3 separate regions of the Homo sapiens genome follow, and regions 2 and 3 are each linked to region 1. Evidence: promoter capture Hi-C in 16 types of primary human blood cells and fetal thymus (Javierre and others, 2016). All regions are on one chromosome and are shown on one strand. The core of a region is centred on a gene start or on the middle of the fragment in contact, and the rest is flanking DNA. Distances in the headings are between cores, read along the strand shown. Region 1 holds the start of SLC10A4 (solute carrier family 10 member 4). Region 2 holds the start of NFXL1 (nuclear transcription factor, X-box binding like 1). Region 3 overlaps CWH43 (cell wall biogenesis 43 C-terminal homolog).

Region 1 (2,914 bases), core at 148-2,647:
ATATTTTTGGTCACAACCCACTTCCTTTAAAGTTTAGCTCACTGAAGTTTTTTTTTCTGGGTTTAGTGTTTTGGAAAAGTGTAAGGGTACATTATCCTCCTAGATTCTTGCAAAAGCTCTGCCCTCGTGGAATTTACAGTCCAAAAGAGAAAAAATAAATTATTTGTGATGAAGAGTGCAATATGCTTTGCATTTGCAAAGTCTTACTTTTCATAGTCTCCATCATCTTCATGAGATTTGGGGAGGAGGAAAGGCTCAGCCCACCCTTGGGTAATAGAAGTCACTCTGTGCCAGGACAGGAGTTAGGGAAAAGTTCCCAGATAGAAGAATTCACTATATCTTGGCTCCTTGTGAAAGCAACCCTGGGCTAAGACTGAGCCTTGATTTCATTCTAGAAATTCCTGTTGGTTTTTACAACTCAACTGACTATCACTTTATGGTCACCCCCAGGGAGCTAGATGCCTCCTTAACAGGCCCCACCTGGTTGGTAAGCAGCGAAATTATTTTCCTTTCTACATGCCATCTAGTGACTGACTTAAAAGTTGTTGCATCTCCATTCCTAAGAGCTCTGCTTTTGAATTGTTTTGGGATAAACCTGTCTCAAGCAGGGAATCTCAGCACTTTATTTCTTTTCAGTCCTTTAATCCTAATGCCAGGGCCTTACTCATAAAGCTTCGTAAATCTGTGGCCACTGAAATATCCTCTCTCCACCTGCCAATAACTTCTTAAACACACATTTTTCATGGAAATTGTTATTAGCCAAGCTCTTCTCTGCCCTCTTTAGGGACACATCGCCGTGCAGATTCAGCCAGGTACTTGTGGGTTCGGTTGATAAGACTGAGAATTCCTCGTTCCTCAGTTTCCTCGTTTGTAAAAATCGAGCTTGTAAAAATGGTATCTATCTCACGGCTTTGCTGTAAGAATCGAATGAAATAATGCACACGCACTTGCACAAAACCCGCTATATTATTATTACATTCTACTTTAAGACTGAAAATCATGCAAAAAATTGTTTGCAAATTCAAGCCAGATATCGTGTCCTGCTTACTAGAGAATCGCTCATATTAAGTCAAGCACCCCTCTTAGGGCTGCAGGCTATAGGAACAGTTTCTGCCATGAGCGTGCATCGATGAGGTTATCCACCCGCCCCCTCCACTTTGTGTGTCTGGGTCTCCAGATTTCATTATAAAGAGGCAGAGCCCATCAGAGAACTTGATCGGCAGCCAGGAACGGTTTTTTCCTGCTCTGGTCCTTTGTCAGGTCTTTGTTCCGCCCCTGGCTACACTCGATAACAGAACCACTTACTGGCGATTCACAGGAGGGGACCGGGCGGCAGGGCGGGGCGGGGCCTGCGGGGCGCGGGGCCGCGGCGCGGAGCCGGCGCAGCGATTGGGTTCACCCGGGGGGCCGCGCTGCGCGGAGTGCCAGGCTGCGGGCGGCTGCAGACCTGGGAGCGGAGACCGGCCCGCCGCCCCCGACGCCGCCGAGCACGTCAGCGGCGCGCAGCCGGGGCTCGGAGACCGACGGGCAGAACGACGGGCGGCGACTGCGGCGACCGCGGGACGGCGAGAGGCACGCGGCGGGAGGGGACCGGAATCCGCAGCTCCGGCCGCGCCATGGACGGCAACGACAACGTGACCCTGCTCTTCGCCCCTCTGCTGCGGGACAACTACACCCTGGCGCCCAATGCCAGCAGCCTGGGCCCCGGCACGGACCTCGCCCTCGCCCCTGCCTCCAGCGCCGGCCCCGGCCCTGGGCTCAGCCTCGGGCCGGGTCCGAGCTTCGGCTTCAGCCCCGGCCCCACTCCGACCCCGGAGCCCACGACCAGCGGCCTCGCGGGCGGCGCGGCGAGCCACGGCCCTTCCCCGTTCCCTCGGCCCTGGGCGCCCCACGCGCTCCCGTTCTGGGACACGCCGCTGAACCACGGGCTGAACGTGTTCGTGGGCGCCGCCCTGTGCATCACCATGCTGGGCCTGGGCTGCACGGTGGACGTGAACCACTTCGGGGCGCACGTCCGTCGGCCCGTGGGCGCGCTGCTGGCAGCGCTCTGCCAGTTCGGCCTCCTGCCGCTGCTGGCCTTCCTGCTGGCCCTCGCCTTCAAGCTGGACGAGGTGGCCGCCGTGGCGGTGCTCCTGTGTGGCTGCTGTCCCGGCGGCAATCTCTCCAATCTTATGTCCCTGCTGGTTGACGGCGACATGAACCTCAGGTACGGATCTGTCTATTCCTTGGGCATCTGTCTCATCCCAGACGCGCGTTTACGGCCGTGGGCTCACGACGAAGGACAGAGGCAGTGGAGGGGTTGGAATTAGGCGTGGAGGAAGGAGGAGAAAAGGAGAGGAAGTTGATGACGCCCCGGCTTTAGAAGTCAAGGCCGACCTGCAGGTTGTGCTGCTAGGGGAGCAAGCTAGACGGCGAGGGAGCTGCTCCAAGGCTGGGATTCCATGCGCAGCGCGGCCCTTCAGCAGGGTCCCTCGCCGTCCTCCCCGAGCGTCGGGGTGGCAGCGCAGGTCGTTGTCCAGTGGAAGACAAAGAGAAGGGGGAGTCTGAACTAGAACTCGCCGGCAACGTAAAAGTAAAATAGGGCTACTGGCCCGTCAGAGAAAGTAATCTCACATAGAGTGCAGGATTGTTGAGTCCGACCAACAAGTAGCAGTCAGCAGCTTTACCATGGCTTACCTTGCAGGGGGCTTGCAAGGAAGAACGTTCCTTCCCCTCAGAATCATCCAGGCTCAATAGACTTTATAATGTCGAGGGCAGCAGTACCGAGACAGGGGGCTTGTTTTTCCTCCCTGCCTTGGGTTCATAATTCCATCGGTGTTAGACGTGCTGCTCTCTTGGCACTCTCCTCGGATGTAGGTTCTGCCCAGACTTCAACCCCGGGACTTGCAGTCTCCCCGTTCCACCTCTACTCAAC
Region 2 (2,914 bases), core at 121-2,620, 570 kb before region 1:
AAAATAAAATGATTTCAGGGATTATTCCCTCGGCCCCATGCACAATTGTGTGTAAGTCCTCCCTGGCTCCACGAAAACATGGTCTTGGATGAAAAGTATTGATATATCGGAGGCAACACCAGATATGTCCACAGAAGGACATGGAATTTGTAAATAGGAACTACAGTCAAGGAAGGTATCAAAAGCTCAAGTGCTTACAAGGAATAAGACAAGTCAAGAAACAAAGGCAAAGGTAAAGATGACAAATGACACCTGGCTCCAGAAATGAGAGAGAATGTGAGATGGAATGCCCAAGTCCAATCTAAATGGGATTTCTGTGACTCAGCCGAGCTGACTGTTGCCATGCACAAAGATAACTAAAGCCACAAGGTTGTTAACCAGATTTTTAAAAACGACAAACAACCGCTGACAATCAATCCACATTTAAAACTCTGTGTTAACCAAACAACATTATAGACCAAATCAGAACACCGGGCCACAATTTACAACTGATGGTCTGGAGATTCAAGTAGGCAAGAGTGGAGGGAAGTAACAAAGGTAATACCACCTAAAATTAAGATGAAAGAGGTGCGATGGAAATCTACCTAGAGTGCCGAAAAGAGCAGCCACCCGAAAGGCTGGAGAAGTGGGCCCGATAACAAACTCCCGAACGAGGGGAAAAGCAGTGAAAGAAAGAAGGCGAGGGCGGAGGCGGTCCTGACTAGTAACTGCCTTAGGAGGCATCCAGGTGAGCACGCGGGCGGGAGCCATTCTCACCGCTGGCTGCGGTAGTCTGCAGGGCTTGGGATCCTGCGGGGCTGTGCCTGCTCCCTGCAGCCGCCGTGGTCGCGACTCCTCCGGGACTGGTGCCAGAAGGAACTGCGCCCACCGACCCCTTCTCTCGCCCTCCTCCGGCGCCGCGGAGATGGACTCCATTTCCTGAGGGGGCGGCAGTGGCCCGTCCCCGGGATCGGCCTCGGCCACCGGCCACCTGGCGCCAGGAAGCTTCCATCCCTGCAAAGGAGAAAAAAAAAAAAAAGAGTGGAAGGAGGTGAGCGCAGCGAGGACCGAGGCGAAGGAGGGTCAGTGCGGAAACCCGGTGTGAGGGGCCGAGTGAGGAAGGTTCCTGCAGGGCGGCGACCGGGTTTTAGGAGGTCGCGGCCCTGCCTTTACCGGAGGGCGAGTCCCCGCCAAGCCCGGGCTTTGGAGATGGACCGAAGAGGGGAGGGAGGACTAGGTACAGAAATAAACCGCGGAGCAAGAAGCACACAGTGCCGAAGACAGAAAGCCGGAGGAGAAGTCGAAACCGCCTCCTCAGCCTCTGCGGGAGCGTGGTAGGGGAAGAGTCACAGACTGACCCTGCGTCTCCCGCCGGGAACCAACTGCAGTGGTACACCCCACGGAAAGCTACGTCTCCTTACCGACTGCGCACGCCCCCAACAGACTACAACTCCCAGAAGCCCCCGCCCGCGTTCCGGCGACTGCGTGGCAGCACGGGCCGCTTCCTTATCCGGTAAAGTGCGGGGGTTGGGTGGGAGGGAAACCCCAAGCGCCTGCGCTGGCCCGAACAGGCCTTTGGGAACTACAACTCCCGGCGTGCTCTGGGGCTAGGGAGGGGTCGAAGGTCATAGGGGCGCGTGGTGGTGGAGGCGGGCGGGTCCGGAGGGTTTCGTGACCCCACAATTTGCTTCTGCTTCTGCAAGACTGCCCTAAACTCACCTGGGTATGAGGATTACATGGCTCTGTCCCTAATTGGCTCTCTGCCATCTTTTATTAGCCTTGCCTTTGAGCTTGCGGATGACAGGAGGTGTCAATGTAAAATAATCAAAAGCGCGAAGTTTGAGGATAGCCTACCTAGAAACACCGACTCCAAGGAAGGAGTCAGCGTTCCGAAGTAGAGATTTAAGATTTCACTTATATAGGCAGAAACTGAGAGGTTTTTTAGCAGGATTACAGCATTTTCTCATACAAGGTTAGAGAATAGTTACAACAATTTGATTATAGACAGTGTTTCTTTTTGGGAAGTGTACATTTAACATTTTTCATAAAGGATTTTCTGTCATCTGGTCTAAGCAAACCGGGGCAACAAAGCAGAAGTTAATCTATAAGGATCATTAAGAAGGCAGGAAGTTTTTGTCCTTAACTTCGTTTAATTCTCTCTAGCCATTGTATAGAACAAGAAAAATAAGAAAGCAAGTTAATCTATAATCTGAGAAACAGAAGTTGTAACCACGTGTAACTCAGATGACAGTCACATCTCTCTCCAGGCTTAGTGAGTTTTAGGCTCCAACAACCTTTAAACTATTTATTTTCATAGGGAAGTCTCACTAACAGGAAAGGCACTTACATTGAAAACGCTTTGAGGTTGGCCACTGTGAAGGAGGGAAATTCGGGGGAGAGTTGCAGGAAAGTGGCTTGAGTAGTAAAAGTACCCTTCTAAAATGCTAGAGCCAATGTAGAAAATAAATCTAAAGCCTGTTATTGTCATAGTCCTTTGTAGTGTGCAATGAGCTTTCCCTGGGACATGCTAATTTTTACCTTCACAGCATCTCCCTAAAGTAGATTTTGTTAAGGAAAATAGTTGAGGGCCAGGACCTAAATCTTATGATTTTGCTGAGTTTTCCAATAAGATACATGTGCATATATACTGACAGGTAGATTGCAAAAATTCATTCTGGGGTCTGTCTGGGATTGAGAAACATATTGATGGCTTATTGTACAGTCCTTCAACTTAGTTAATTCTTCTATTTTAACCATAAATTTCTATTATAATATTTAGATAGCATTTATTAGATGTCAGGCACTGTTTAAAGTGTTTTACGTTATGTATTAACTAATTTGGTACTCACAGTAACCGTGTTTATTATCCCCGTTTTACAACTGAGAACACTGAGGCACAGAGAGATTAAGCAATTTGCCCTTGATCATACAGCTA
Region 3 (2,914 bases), core at 269-2,768, 510 kb after region 1:
GCTCGAGCCACTGCATCTGGCCCTGTTTTCTAATTTGTAAAATAGGATTAATAGTAGAGCCTACCTCATAAAGTTGTGAAAGTTAAATGAGTTAATATAAAGTTAATATACAGGGCTTGGAAGAGGGGTTGGTGCACAGTGGCTGCCCAGTCAATGCACTAATATTACTCTGCACCCACAGAGGGTTAGATGAGAGCCCTGTTCTTTGGGAGGAAGCAGCTTGTGTACTGGAAATGTTCCACTCAATTTGTACAACATTTGTTCACAAACACAAACACTTTTTCTGCAATGCGTTAGCTTCACATGAAGCAAATAATTTTCTGCATTTTCACCTGTTGAATTCCAAAATGCCTTTTCTCCCTTAAACCATTCCTTATCTGGCCTGCATGGAATTATGTCTCCCACTAAATAGCTGTCAGCATGTTTAGCTTCATATTGTAGTTGCATGTCTCATCTCCTCTTCCGAAGTAAGCTTCTTGAAGCCAAATACCATTTCTTCCTTGCTAAAAGTCTGCTAAATATAGAGCGCAAATTTCCATATAACTAAACTTTTTCCATATATGTATTTTTAAATTCTAGATGGTGACTGCAGTAAACCTGAAGAAAAGAAGACTGGTGAGGTAGCCACGGGGATGGCCTCTAGACCCAACTGGCTGCTGGCAGGGGCTGCTTTTGGTAGCCTTGTGTTCCTCACCCACTGGGTTTTTGGAGAAGTCTCTCTTGTTTCCAGATGGGCAGTGAGTGGGCATCCACATCCAGGGCCAGATCCTAACCCATTTGGGTGAGTTTGGGTTTGGAAGCAATCACAAAATCGGCAGTTATGCCTGGAGGAAGCAATGCCTCCTTTGTCAGACAGCTAGGTCTGTGCTAGCCAGATATTTCATACCACTCTCCCTAGATATCAGAATGTGGCATGAAATTATTGTGTGCTCTGGAGAGAAGGGCACTAGAAGGGTCTTTTCCTCTGTGCAGAAGGATTGCTGAAAAGTAGATGTGGGAGGCCCAATGGTTGTGCACAGCTAAGTAAGAGGTTCCCAGAGCTCCAGCATAGGCATCTCGAGGAATGCCTGCACAGAAGAGCATTCTCAGTGGTGGGAGAGGAGCAGCATTCCCTGGCCATTTCCTCCAGACCCTCTGGTTATGGTTATGGGCATTTAGTAGGATAAGACCACAGTCCCCTGAGGAGACTAGGTTGGCTGCCTGGGGCACAGATCTCTATTCTCAGCAAAGGAGGGCAGCCCCAGGAGATCCCTGCATCTTCTGGTACTTTCTTGTTCCAGCTGTGGGACAGGGTCACACAGGGAGTTAGTAGTCTGGAGTCAAGTGTTGGTCCTTGTGTTTGGTCCTTTTTAACTCTCTCTCTGCTCTTCCTGACACATCTTTTCTCTTGTAACTGGCTCCATCTCTTCTTGCAAAAAAATTGGAGGAATTCTTAAAAGATCTGCCTCCGATATCTTTTCTCTCTTGTAGTGCTGAATTCTTACAATTGAAGGCATGCAGCTGCCTACTGGATCTTTCCCCAGCAGGGATCTGGGCATATCCCACAGGCTTGTCAACCTCAGCTTGTCCAAATCTGAACTCAGTATTTCCCAGTCCTCCACGCATGTTCTTCTTCCCCCATTCCCAGGTCCATTTTGTCTGTCCACCTCATCATCCAAACCTGAGACCAAGAGTTTGCCCAGAATTCTCCATCTTCCTCATTTTCTCCAACTCAGTTCTATGACTTCTCTTAGATTAACCCCTTCTTCTCTATCCCTAAGTTCATCTGCCTTAGTGGAGTCCTCACCATTTTTTCATTCAGGCTATTACTGTTGTCTCCTAATTGTCTCTCTTTAGCAGAATCTTCTCCACATGGTTCCAGAATGATCTCTGTAAAATGCAAATCTGATTCCACCACTCCTTTACTGATAACCTCTCAGCAGTTCCCCCCCACCAATACCTGGTGGCCCCCAATTCTCCCATATGAGGCAGGATCTGGCCCCCCTACTTACCTTTCCAAATGCTTTCTGATCTTATCCTCCTGCTTCACCTGAGTCGAACCCACTTGCGCTTCTCTGGAAGTGCCAGACTGTTCCTGTCCCCCCTCTGCCTGGGCTTGCTTTTCTGCCTTGATGTCCTGGCAAGCCCTACTCCCTTCAAAACCCAGCACAAACATTTTCTCTGTGAATTATTCTGTTATTATCACAGGGGATCCTCCTTTATGCCACATACTATAATACTTTGAGTCAATCAATTTTTATATATGTGTTATATATGTGTACACACACACACACACACACACACACACACACATATATATATGTATCTGTTAGAAACTTTATATTCTGTATTACAGATTTTAAAAAATGTTTTTCTTCCTGTCTAGACACTAAGTCCCTTGAGGGCAGGGAATGGGAAAAGGAATGAATGTTGATTACTTACTCTGTGTCAGGTCCTGAACAAGGACTTTTGAAAATATTATTTCATTTAGAGTCTGTATCTTCTTCCATATCTGGGAGGAAGGCAGAGAAGAAAGAAAGGAACAAAAGGCCAGAGAGGAAGGAAGAAGTTTATTCCTATGTGTTAAAGCTTAGTTTCCAAAGTTACCTGTGAAAACAAGCATAAGTTTTGTGGCAGAGTAAAGGAAGAACTTTAATGGTAAATGGTGAGTCCTGGTAACCAGGAGAAACTCACCATTCAACTCTGGGCCAATCATATTACATCCCTGGCCTTGCTTTACTCACAAGAAGAATGTAACTAAACTTCAGGGGGAAACTTTCTCACATATATAAAATCAGCATTTGCTTTTCAGACATTTCCTAATCCTGTATGTTAGAATGAGACACTGAAGACGGAACTGCAACTCACAAGACCAGCATTTCCCAAACTGTGTTCTGTGAGATGCTGGTTTCTTGAGATGTTAATGGTTACTCTG

The links. The method cuts DNA at HindIII sites, captures the fragments that hold promoters and counts their contacts. A CHiCAGO score of 5 or more calls a contact.
Region 2: the fragment with the promoter of NFXL1 here is called in contact with the fragment with the promoter of SLC10A4 in region 1 in 4 of 17 cell types (erythroblasts, activated CD4 T cells, fetal thymus and 1 more); the score reaches 10.9 in erythroblasts.
Region 3: a contact is called between a fragment that was not itself captured here and the fragment with the promoter of SLC10A4 in region 1, in 2 of 17 cell types (endothelial precursors and non-activated CD4 T cells). The highest score is 6.2, in endothelial precursors.

The regions. Positions count from the first base shown.
Region 1 is chr4:48,481,946-48,484,859 of GRCh38, forward strand. It overlaps SLC10A4 (solute carrier family 10 member 4), which reads left to right and starts at 1,398. Exons shown (of 3, transcript NM_152679.4): 1 at 1,398-2,206. The coding sequence starts at 1,617. RefSeq lists a cis regulatory region at 1-63 and silencers at 1,318-1,367, 1,448-1,577. The HindIII fragment of the contact is 5,112 bases long and covers 671-2,914 here.
Region 2 is chr4:47,913,213-47,916,126 of GRCh38, forward strand. It overlaps NFXL1 (nuclear transcription factor, X-box binding like 1), which reads right to left and starts at 1,371. Exons shown (of 23, transcript NM_001278624.2): 1 at 1,153-1,371; 2 at 757-993. The coding sequence starts at 991. LOC101927157 (a long non-coding RNA gene) reads left to right here and starts at 1,015. Exons shown (of 3, transcript NR_125879.1): 1 at 1,015-1,492. RefSeq lists enhancers at 239-925, 926-1,611, 1,122-1,351. The HindIII fragment of the contact is 5,032 bases long and covers 983-2,914 here.
Region 3 is chr4:48,994,040-48,996,953 of GRCh38, forward strand. It overlaps CWH43 (cell wall biogenesis 43 C-terminal homolog), which reads left to right. Exons shown (of 16, transcript NM_025087.3): 5 at 580-781. Among named protein-coding and RNA genes, the nearest start is that of CWH43, 9.2 kb to the left of the region's middle. The HindIII fragment of the contact is 2,096 bases long and covers 471-2,566 here.